Regions from separate parts of the Homo sapiens genome. Here all the other regions are linked to region 3. The links are contacts of gene promoters, found by promoter capture Hi-C in blood cells and fetal thymus (Javierre and others, 2016). All regions are on one chromosome and are shown on one strand. Each heading gives the region's core, a stretch centred on a gene start or on the middle of the fragment in contact. The rest is flanking DNA. Distances are from core to core; before and after follow the strand shown. Region 1 overlaps LINC01839 (long intergenic non-protein coding RNA 1839). Region 2 overlaps LAMP3 (lysosomal associated membrane protein 3). Region 3 holds the start of PARL (presenilin associated rhomboid like).

Region 1 (3,347 bases), core at 722-3,221, 640 kb after region 3:
CCAACAAAATGTTTATAGAACTGACAAGCTAATTCTAAAATATGTATGAAAATGCAGAGAACTCCAAATAGTTGAGATAGTCTTGAAAAAAAAATGTATGAATACATGCTCATCCAGAAATCAAGACTTATTATCAAGTTATAGTATGTGAGAGTGCAGTATTGCTAGAGGACAGAACAATGTAACAAAATAGAGAACCCAGAAACAGACCACCACTTACTGGGAAATTTGATTTATGGCAAAGCCAGCATTGCAGATGACTGGAAAAGGATGAGCTGTCCAATAAATGCTTTGACAATTATTATCCAAGGAGAAAGATGATCTCTCCACCACACCTTTACAAAGAATCAAATCCAGATAGATGTAAGACCAAATATAAAACGACAAAATTTAAAAACTTTTAGAAGAAAGTGTAGGGAAACTTATATCTTGGAAGAGGAAAAGGTACTTTAACCATGTCAACCAAAGTACAAACTTTAAAGAAAGAGGTAAATTAGAATATGTGCAGATGTAAATTTTCTGTGTCTTGAAAGACATCACAAATAGTTATAAGATAAGCCATGGAGTGAATGACAATATTTGCAACTCATCCATCTGATGAAAGATTAAGATACAAAATTTATAAAGAATTCTTAAAAACCAACAAGAAAATGTCAACAACCAATAGAAAAATAGGAAAAAGTTATGATCAAGACTTTACAGTATAAAAAATACCAATAAACATAGGAACAAATGCCTGACCTCTAACCCCATGGTAATTAGGGAAATGCAAATTTAAACCATGAGAAGTAACCACACCCATTACACTGGAAAAGAACTGACGTGATGAGAGGCAGTGTTGAGGGCTGGGAGTGTTACTACAATGACTCATCTGCTGCTGGCAAGATCGCTTTGGAGAACGACTGGGCAGTAATTTGTAGCACTGAAGTTAGGCATCCCTTGCAATGTCTGTGGCCAATGCTAGGTGCACTCCATAGAAACTCACATGTGCACAAGAAGACACAGACCAGAATGTTCATCGCGGCACTGTTTGTAATAAGAACAAAATGGAAACATTCTAAATTTTCACAGCAGGAGAATGGATCAATACATTTAGTATGATATTAACAAGTCTACTATACTGCAGTGAAAATGATTTTTTATTTCTTAAAAAACAACAAACATATGTAGTGCCATGTGCCAGGCTCTGCTCTACGTTTTTGAGAAATATTAAGTCATATTTACTGAATGAACCAGAGCCAGATTCATCAACATGAGTCGACATGGATGAATCCCCAGAGCACCAAGTTGACTTAAAAAAGCAAGTCAAAGGAGTGTGCATAATACTTTGTCATATATGTCAAGTTTGAAATACTTATATAATGTTTAGGAATCCACTCATATGTAATAAAGATAGTGAGAAGTCACCTCAGGGATGAGGGTGAGGAAGGTGGTGAAGAGGGTCCCTAAGGGGCTTCAGCAGTGAGGTTGCTCCATTCCCCATGATTATTGATGGGTAAGTTCTTCTCTATACCTTGATATGTATCTGAAATAGTTCATAAAAAAGTTTTTTCAAAAGAAAAAAAAAGCACCCATTCCTATTTAAAATGTATTTCTTCCAGTCTTTCCACTATGCTTAGTTTATATACTTGTGATTATCTTGTGTATACAAACTCACCTTGTGCCTTTTACAGAATGAGAAAATTTCCTTATACTATCGAAAACTTTTCAGAAATGTTATCAATGACAGAATGATATCACAACTGTGGATACACCATAATGTATTTATCAGTGCCCAACTAGTTGATTCCAATTTTAGATAATTTTTTTTCTCATTTTTCAGTGCAAAGAATGTCTGTGTCCATAAAAGCTTTGGGGGAATATTTGGGATTATTTCTTCTGATGCATGACCACTACTAGAACCACAATATCAAACAGTGTGAGCATTCAAAGACTCTAACTCTGTATTATTACATTTTGCCAAAACAGCTAGACCAGTTCCGCCCCCCTCCCCCGTCCCTGACTGTGCCCGGATCACTCCACTTCCTCTGTAGCTCTGTCAGCCCTAAACAGTTTCCTTTTAAAAAGCCCTTACTATTTTGATCGGTGACAATGGAAGCTTATTTGTATTGTTTTGAGAACACCCCCCACAAACGCACGTAAAACCTCTATAAAGGGAGAACCGCCTTGCTGCTGAGGGCGCGGTGGGACCCGTCGCAGGGCCAGCTGCTCCGGCAGGTGCCCCCAAAGGGTCCCGCAGGTGATCCTCGGGGACTGAGCGCCCATCGCCCTTCCTACGCACTCAGATCCGCCGAGCCCAGCGCCCGCCAGAGCCCAGAGAGTCCTCGGGGTCAGAGTGGTCACGTCACCGTCATTCTTTTCCTGCCCGACTAGTCGCTCTGGGCTCCCCGGGGCCGGGGGCCGGGGGCCGAGCCGCCGCCCCGATTCCGGCTTCACCCGCCCGCAGCGCGCGGCGCCCCGCGCTCCATTCGCGCTACCTGGCGGCTGGCAGGCTGCCCCACCCCACCGCGGGCCACACACAGCCAGGGTGGGACCCCGGCCGCTTTCTCTTTCCCAGGGAGAGGACTGGAATTTGGGGGGGAGGTGGGAATTGAGGAAGTCGGGAAGGGAGGAGTAGAGAGGTGGGTGAGAAGGGGGAGGATGCTTCTAGAAGGCGGGTGAGGGAGCTGGGGAGGCCAGGAAGGGGAGGAAGGGGTAAGAGGTGCGGGAGGGCCTAACGGGGAGACTCCGGGGGCAATCAGTGGGTATTCACAGGGAGCTGGGCGCGAGCATCAGCGGGATGAAAGGCAGGTCAGGGCTTGCCCGTCAGGTCCGGACTGCGCCCTGGAGGGGCTCCCAGTAGAGCCTGCGCAGGAGCGCGGGGAGCGCGCAGCCCAGGCCTCTGGCCAGGTGGAGCAAGAGGAGGGCGGAGGTGGACAGCGCATCTCGCCCGTGGAGGACGGGCAAGGACGCCGCCTGCCCAGCTGTTGGAGTCTCCTGGGCACGGACTGAGGGGGAGGGTCTGAAGAGCCCAGAGATCCCAGAGGGACCAGCTTCTTGTTACAGGGAAAATCCTCACCACCGAGAGATGCAATGAGTGAATCACGGTCTAGCCCTGTTTGGGAGACTCTGTGGCCATTAAAAATGGCGATGCTCCCCAGAGTGTGTGGGGCACAGGAATCCTCTAGGGGGCTTACGAAAATGCAGATTCCGGTTCGGGCCTGACATTCTGCTCTTCTCACAAGCCCCCTGGCTCCTGCTATTGATGTAGAGCTAGCTTTAGATTGTACGGTAAAGGGAAAACCAGTAGGTGTGGGATGAGCCCATTTTGGTTCTTTGAAAAATGTGTTTCTTACACAAACACACAA
Region 2 (3,423 bases), core at 919-3,418, 760 kb before region 3:
GAGCCATGGCACCTGGCCTAAACATCTCTTATTTATGCCTGCCAACACTTGACCAAAATTGGCATCTCTTGGAGGCACTAAGGTGGGGTGAAGGGACTTGTTGATGAGCGAGGGGCTGGAGTATTATAAAATGAAACTCTTTTTTCATTGGCAGAGATTCTTCTTCCATTCTTTTTATAGTTTATATTCCTTTTACTTAGTGGGCAGAGGGAAACCTCACAGCAAATCATCCTAGAGAACCAAGACCCGGGTCAGGAAGGAGTGGCTCATGTATTTGTGTCCTCAGACCTTCTTGGCCTTCAAGCTTAGAGCCCCAAACAGGAGTCCAGAGGGGGGATCTAGGACCTTACAAAGCAAGAAAAGTGTGAGAAGAACAAAGGTGGGGCAGATTGGGTAGGGGCTGGAGCCATCCTGGCTACTTTCTTTTAGGAAGGTGAAGCCGTGACGTCAGTGCTGTAGACCAATGGGTCAACACCAGACCCTGTGGTCAATGGACCTTCATCACCAGGGATTGGGAGGCTGTGCTCCTGAGGAGGTGCTACACCTGGGGCAGGGTTGGAAGCAGGCTGGAAAGGGCCTTGCTCTCATCATCCCTTGTATATGTTCCTATTAATCCACTTATCTTAGTATATATACTGGAATTTATTTACTGAAGTTCCCTCCAAAAAGTAAACCACGAATTCCACAATGTTCACCTTGACAGTAGGCACCTGAGGTAGGCAGCATCCACGCTGCCTCCAGGGGTTCCTCCCTCTCCCGGCGCTGTGGTTGGAAGGTGTCCCCCAAACCATATGTTGGAAACTTAATCTACAATGCAACAGTGTTGAGAAGCGGGACCTTTAAGAGGCAGTGGGGTCATGATGGCTCTGCCCTCGTGGATGGATTAATGCTATTATTACAAGTGTGGGGCCCCCTCTTGCTCTCTCTTCTGTGTCCTCGCACCATGTGATGCCTTTTACCATGTTACAAGGCAGCAAGAAGATGCACATCAGATTTGGCCCTTCCATCTTGGACTTCCCAGGCTCCAGAACCATGACCAAATCAACTTCTATTGCTTGTAAGTTATCAAAAAATCTGTGGTATTCTGTGATAATGGCACAGAATGGACTAAAATCTGATATTCGAGCCCTTGTGTAGTCCCCTTCCACAGTGTACCAGAGATGGTTTGTGTGAACCATAAACAGACATGCGATAGTATGTTTCTTCTGTGATTAGGTTATAAAAATATGACGGCTTTCATCTTGGTCAGTCTCTCTCTCTCTCTTTTTTTTTGAGATGGAGTCTCGCTCTGTCGCCCAGGCTGGAGTGCAGTGGCATGATCTCGGCTCACTGCAACCTCTGTCTCCCGGGATCAAGCGATTCTTCTGCCTCAGCCTCCCGAGTAGCTGGGACTACAGGTGCACACCACCATGCCCAGCTAATTTGTTTGTACTTTTAGTAGAGACGGAGTTTCACCATATTGGCCAGGTTGGTCTCAAACTCCTGACCTCGTGACCTGACTGCCTCGGCCTCCCAAAGTGCTGGGATTACAGGTGTCAGCCACCGCTCCCAGCCCTCTCTCTCTTTCTCTCAGATCACTATGGGTAACTAATATAGGACCTCTTATTTATCTCAGCTCCTACAAGAGTATCTGGCATTTAGCAAATCCTTATCAATGCTGATCAAATGAATGAATGAACAAACGTGGCGACATTTAAGCAAACTAGTAATGCAGTCAGTCTAAGCTAAGAGTTGAGACATTTCATATGTAACTTTAATGTGGTTTATCTTCTCAGGAATTCCTACCAAGTGATAATGTGGCAATGGAGAATAGAATGAAACAAATTATAGAAAGATGATTTAACTTATTGATCGGAGCAAAAACCTAAGATGATTGTAAACAAAATTTATACAGCACAAAAATGAATCATAAAAAATAAATGACATGCACAAATCTCCAAAGTAAGTTTTTATTACAAAAACCTTTACTACAATTCAATGTTTTATTAAGACTAAAGTCAGGACCTTGCCAACTTACTGAGTCATAAGGAAACACATGAGGAAAGTCAACATGGTCTCTAGGCTGACTTGAATTATTCCTTGACTAAGAATTCTAGGGTTATGTGGACTTTTCTGTTAACATCCTGACTTAGTTCCTTTCTTTAGCAGCAAAAAAAACAGCAGAAATAAAATTCTTGGCAGGCTGCTCTACAGAATAAAGTGAACAATAGGAAATATGGATATGAAGTGCAGAAGCAGCAAGTTACCACAAGATGGGGCTATACACTCAAGAAAGAACAGTTGGTTAGCGAAGTTTCTCTATTATCAAAAAAATTTAAAAATACTTTGAGTTTATTTGATGCCTTCATCTTTACAGCCCAGCTAAGCAATCCCATAAAAATGAGCAACTGACTAATGTTTTACAAAGCCCCTCAGTCTCCTTCCAGAGAGTGGAGGATTTATTAAGGATAGGCTATTTTGTTATCTGCAAAGCTCTCCTTTCATCTACCCTAATGTCTCATGATCCTGGATAAACCCATTTCCCTGTAAGGTGAGCGTATGCTGGTATGAGGTGTGAGCCTTCAGGCAGAGTGTGGTGTCATTGTTCTTGTAGGTAACTTGGTGTAGGGAGAAGACCAAAGACCTTGATGTCAGACCAACATGAATTCAAGCTCTGGCTCTGCCATCAGTTAGCCAGGTGACATTTAAGTGATTCAGTTCCCTTAAGTCTCAGTTTACTCATTCACCTATAAGTTGTGAGAATGAAATGAGATATAGATAAAGTGCTTAGCCTAGACTCTGGCACTTTGTTAATAATTAAGGGCCATTATTATTGTCTCTTGCTTATTGTTTAGTTCTACCATCTGTAGCCACCTAATTCTTAGTCTAGCGATTCTGGAGCAGGAGTCATCAAGATAAAAAATATAAGCTGATTTGTTCTTTTTGTTGGTTTTACATAAAAACACTTAGACAACCTGAGATATGTTGTTCTTTTTGATGATTAAAAAAAACATTTAAGGCCGGGCGCAATGGCTCATGCCTGTAATCCCAGCACTTTGGGAGGCTGAGGTGGGTGGATCACCTGAGGTCAAGAGTTCAAGACCAGTCTGGCCAACATGGTGAAACCCCGTCTATAATAAAAATACAAAAATTAGCCAGGCGTGGTAGTGTGTGCCTGTAATCCCAGCTACTCGGGAAGCTGAAGCAGGAGAATCACTTGAACCCGGGAGGCGGAGGTTGCCATAAGCCGAGATCGTGCCACTGTACTCCAGCCTGGGTGACAAGAGTGAAACTCCGTCTCAAAAAACAAAAACAAATTTAAAGTGGAAAAGGAGTTAAGTGCTACACCAGGAATATGTATGTTACATGAAACCATAAAACACAGATAGTAAAAGCACTGAAAGTCCATTTGATAACAAAGCAAAGGCTTTGTTAAGATCAAGG
Region 3 (3,467 bases), core at 749-3,248:
TTCTTCTGCACGCTAATTTCAAAGCCATAAGAAGTCAACATATAGCTAATAAAGGTTATATATAAGGTAAACTGATACTATTAACTTTAAGAACTTATTACCAGAGGCAAATGCTCTATTTCAGGCCTACATTCTCATGTATATTTTTTATGCAACCACGAAAATGTCATTTTCAAACTTTCTATACAAATGGCAAGCTTTTCAGACATTAAATACTAATCTTCAACATTTCATGTGTTTCTGGTTCACTGTTTCAAATGGTCTTTATACTCAATTTTTACTAGAGGCTCATTAGTTTTCTTTTGCTTCCCCTTCCTAAAACCAATACGGTGATGTGTACATAAATCTTAAATGTTTAACACACTTCCTGTTGCTTCCTAATACACGTACAGTATTTATTTATTTTACATGGAGTCTCACTCTGTTGCTCAAGATGAAGTGCAATGGCACGATCTCGGCTCACTGCAACCTCCGCCTCCCAGGTTCAAGCCATTCTCCTGCCTCAGGCTCCCGAGTAGCTGGGATTACAGGCGCCCGCCACCATGCCCCGCTAATTTCTTGTATTTTTAGTAGAGACGGGGTTTTGCAATGTTGGCCAGGCTGGTCTTGAACTCCTAACTTCAGGTGATCCACCTGCCTCAGCCTCCCAAAGTGCTAGGATTACAGGCGTGTGAGCCACCACGCCCGGCCAGTATTAATCTTTTCTTTCCCCCTTAAACCATGCAATCTCAAATGGGATTACCACCTCCATCTGTCCTCATTTTCCACCTCCCCAGGAGTTTAAGATTAGTGCCTGACAGATCTATGTTAGTGTATGAAGATACAATGTATGTAAAGTTTTCACAAGTCCCTGATAAAATTCACCTGGAATGCTTGTCGGACATATAGGTTCTTCCACTCCACCCACCCCTCTCCTGATTGTGATTTGGGAGGACTGGGGTGAGGCCTGGGACATAAAATCCATACAAACTCTTCAGGTGATCCTTGAGATTAGGCAATGGCTCCGCCACATTAGAGCCTCGATTATTTACCACTGACTATCCCACGTGTTGATAAACAATGTTTCTTATCAGCAATCAGGTGGATTCGAGGCACCCATCTAACCAAGTCAGAAATTGGAAGGAATGAAGTTTTGAACAAAAGAGGAGGAAAATTTTCAAAGCCAAATGCACATCAGATTCTTAAACAGGTGAGGAATTTCTCTCTTCTCTCTCAAATTAGAAATGAATTACTGTGATGCAAAAATCAGCAATACTGATCAACCATACGCTTCACACTTCTACTCGGAAGGTTCGGCAGTTTTCTTTCCAAATCAACCGGAAACGAAATCTTCCACTGTCTCAATTCAACAATAAAGCCTCTCCTACGACTTTGCCAGACACAAAGTGATACCTTCCATCAGACTTCGTCCTCCCTTAGATCACAAGCTAAAGAAGGCGACTGGTTGTAATGGAACACAACCTTTATAATTAGATGGAAAAAGAATAAAAACCGCCATTCTGCCAGCTGTACTAACTTCTTCACTTCAGAAACTGGCTCAACAGTTTCCACTCGCGATTATGAAGTGTGGCACGCAATGAACCCTCAGCTTAGTTCCCCTTCCAGTCACGTCCTTCCCAATGGGAAAGGAGAAAGCGCAGGCTCGCGGGGGGCTGGGCTGGGCAAGGGGAGCGAGAAGCGAGGACTGGACGGAGGCGAGAGAGGAGAGAGAAGGGGCAGGTAAGGTGAAGGGGGTGAGCTGGGGCCAGCACAAGAGGCCCAGACGGCCTCCGCCCCCGAGGATACACGGCCAGAGCTCAGGGACCAAGAGGCGAGAAGACCAGAGCGCGGCGGCTATTACCTGCGTCCGAGGAGCTGCGGCGGGGTTAGGACCGCAGTGAGCTCCTCGCAGCTGCGGCCGCCCACCGACGCACCCCACGCCTGGCCGCAGCCCCAGCCTCTCTGCGCCCAGCCTCGCCACGCCATCTTCCCAACCTCTGCCCCACCATGGCCCGACCTTACCAACCCCAGCTGCGCAACTACTTCCGGGGCGAAGGCAACACCATAGAGCACGAGGAGCAGTCTAGAGCGCCCCCGCGCGGCTGAGCGGCAGCCGAACCAGCCACGGTGCCCGGACGACTGGCTGGCGCCCTTCTGTCCCACCGCTTCCCCTCCCACTGCTCAGCTGGCTCCGGGAGCGACCTGCGAGAGTGGCCCGGCCTCCCGGCATTTGCAGATGAGGAGGATGGGGCCAGAGCGAAGAGGGACAACTGTCATTTTTTCGAGTAACGGCACATACCAGGCGCTTTGCCTAAGATCGCATTTAATCGTCACAGCACTGCTAGAGGTAGATGTCATCACTGTTTCACTTTGCCTCTGGTCAGAGGGGATAGGACTTGCCCGGAGTTGCAGGGCTGGTCCCTAGAGGAACCAACGTGGCAAGCCAAGTTTTCTTAAATTACTACTTTTTTCTGCATCTCACCACTTCGTGTTATTCTGTATGCCTTTAACAAAGTCCAAGCCTATCGGGCGGGGTGGCTCACCCCTTTAATCCCAGCACTTTGGGAGGCCGAGGCCGGCGGATCACCTGAGGTCAGGAGTTCGATACCAGCCCGGCCAACATGGTGAAACCCCGTCTCTACTAAAAATACAAAAATTAGCCGGGCATGGTGGCAGGGGCCTGTAATCCCAGCTACTCAGTTGGCTGAGGCAGGAGTATTGCTTGAACCTGGGAGGCGGAGGTTGCAGTGAGCCGAGATTGGACCACTGCACTCCAGCCTAGGTGACAGAGCGAGATCCGTCTCAAAAAAATTACAAATACAAATACAAAAATTAGCTGGGCGTGGTGGCGCAAACCTGTAATCCCAGCTACTCGAGAGGCTGAGGTGGGAGAATCACTTGAACTCGGGAGGTTGCAGTGAGCCGATATCGTGCCAGCCTGGGCAACAGAGTGAGACCCTTTCTCATAAATAAATAAGTAAATAAACACAAAATCCAAGCCTGAAATGAAAAGCGGGCTTTCACTTTTTCATAATCCATCCCTCAACTACCTGTCAGTTAGCTTGATTCCCTGCCATTCCATTCCCCCCGACCCTAGCTGCAGCCATACAGTCATTGGCCATTACTCAAAGGCACCATCCGCGTTCCCACTGCTGAGCATTCATGCTACCGTTCTCACCACTTGAAACATCTAACCGACTTGTCCTTCAGGTCAGCCTCAAGTGTCACCTCTTCCAGGAGGCCTTTCCCAGACCTCCACTCCAATTTAGATTCCCTTCCTTTGTACTCACATACCGCTTTATGCTTATCTCTGCAATAGCACTTCATTCATTCCATAAGCTCTTATTAAGCACCTACAGTGTGTCAGGTGATATGTTAAACCTGGGGATACAATTGAGAAGACACTATATCTGACCTCACAAAGATTCTATTGTATTGGGGGAGAAGGCTCTGTAGGAGTCTAGAGAGGGGGGATATAGCCCAATTGA

The links. The method cuts DNA at HindIII sites, captures the fragments that hold promoters and counts their contacts. A CHiCAGO score of 5 or more calls a contact.
Region 1: a fragment that was not itself captured here is called in contact with the fragment with the promoter of PARL in region 3 in 3 of 17 cell types (naive B cells, total B cells and total CD8 T cells); the score reaches 7.6 in naive B cells.
Region 2: a fragment that was not itself captured here is called in contact with the fragment with the promoter of PARL in region 3 in 1 of 17 cell types (fetal thymus); the score reaches 6.8 in fetal thymus.

What each region holds. Positions count from the first base shown.
Region 1 is chr3:184,523,165-184,526,511 of GRCh38, forward strand. All of the region lies in intron 6 of LINC01839 (long intergenic non-protein coding RNA 1839), which reads left to right. Among named protein-coding and RNA genes, the nearest start is that of LINC01840, 32 kb to the right of the region's middle. RefSeq lists enhancers at 1,832-2,636, 2,637-3,347. The HindIII fragment of the contact is 249 bases long and covers 1,848-2,096 here.
Region 2 is chr3:183,120,280-183,123,702 of GRCh38, forward strand. LAMP3 (lysosomal associated membrane protein 3) reads right to left here. Exons shown (of 6, transcript NM_014398.4): 6 at 1,936-3,423. Among named protein-coding and RNA genes, the nearest start is that of MCCC1, 22 kb to the left of the region's middle. The HindIII fragment of the contact is 3,732 bases long and covers 303-3,423 here.
Region 3 is chr3:183,882,882-183,886,348 of GRCh38, forward strand. PARL (presenilin associated rhomboid like) reads right to left here and starts at 1,999. Exons shown (of 10, transcript NM_018622.7): 1 at 1,841-1,999. The coding sequence starts at 1,965. RefSeq lists silencers at 1,759-1,918, 2,029-2,179 and enhancers at 2,129-2,178, 2,219-2,448. The HindIII fragment of the contact is 9,960 bases long and covers 196-3,467 here.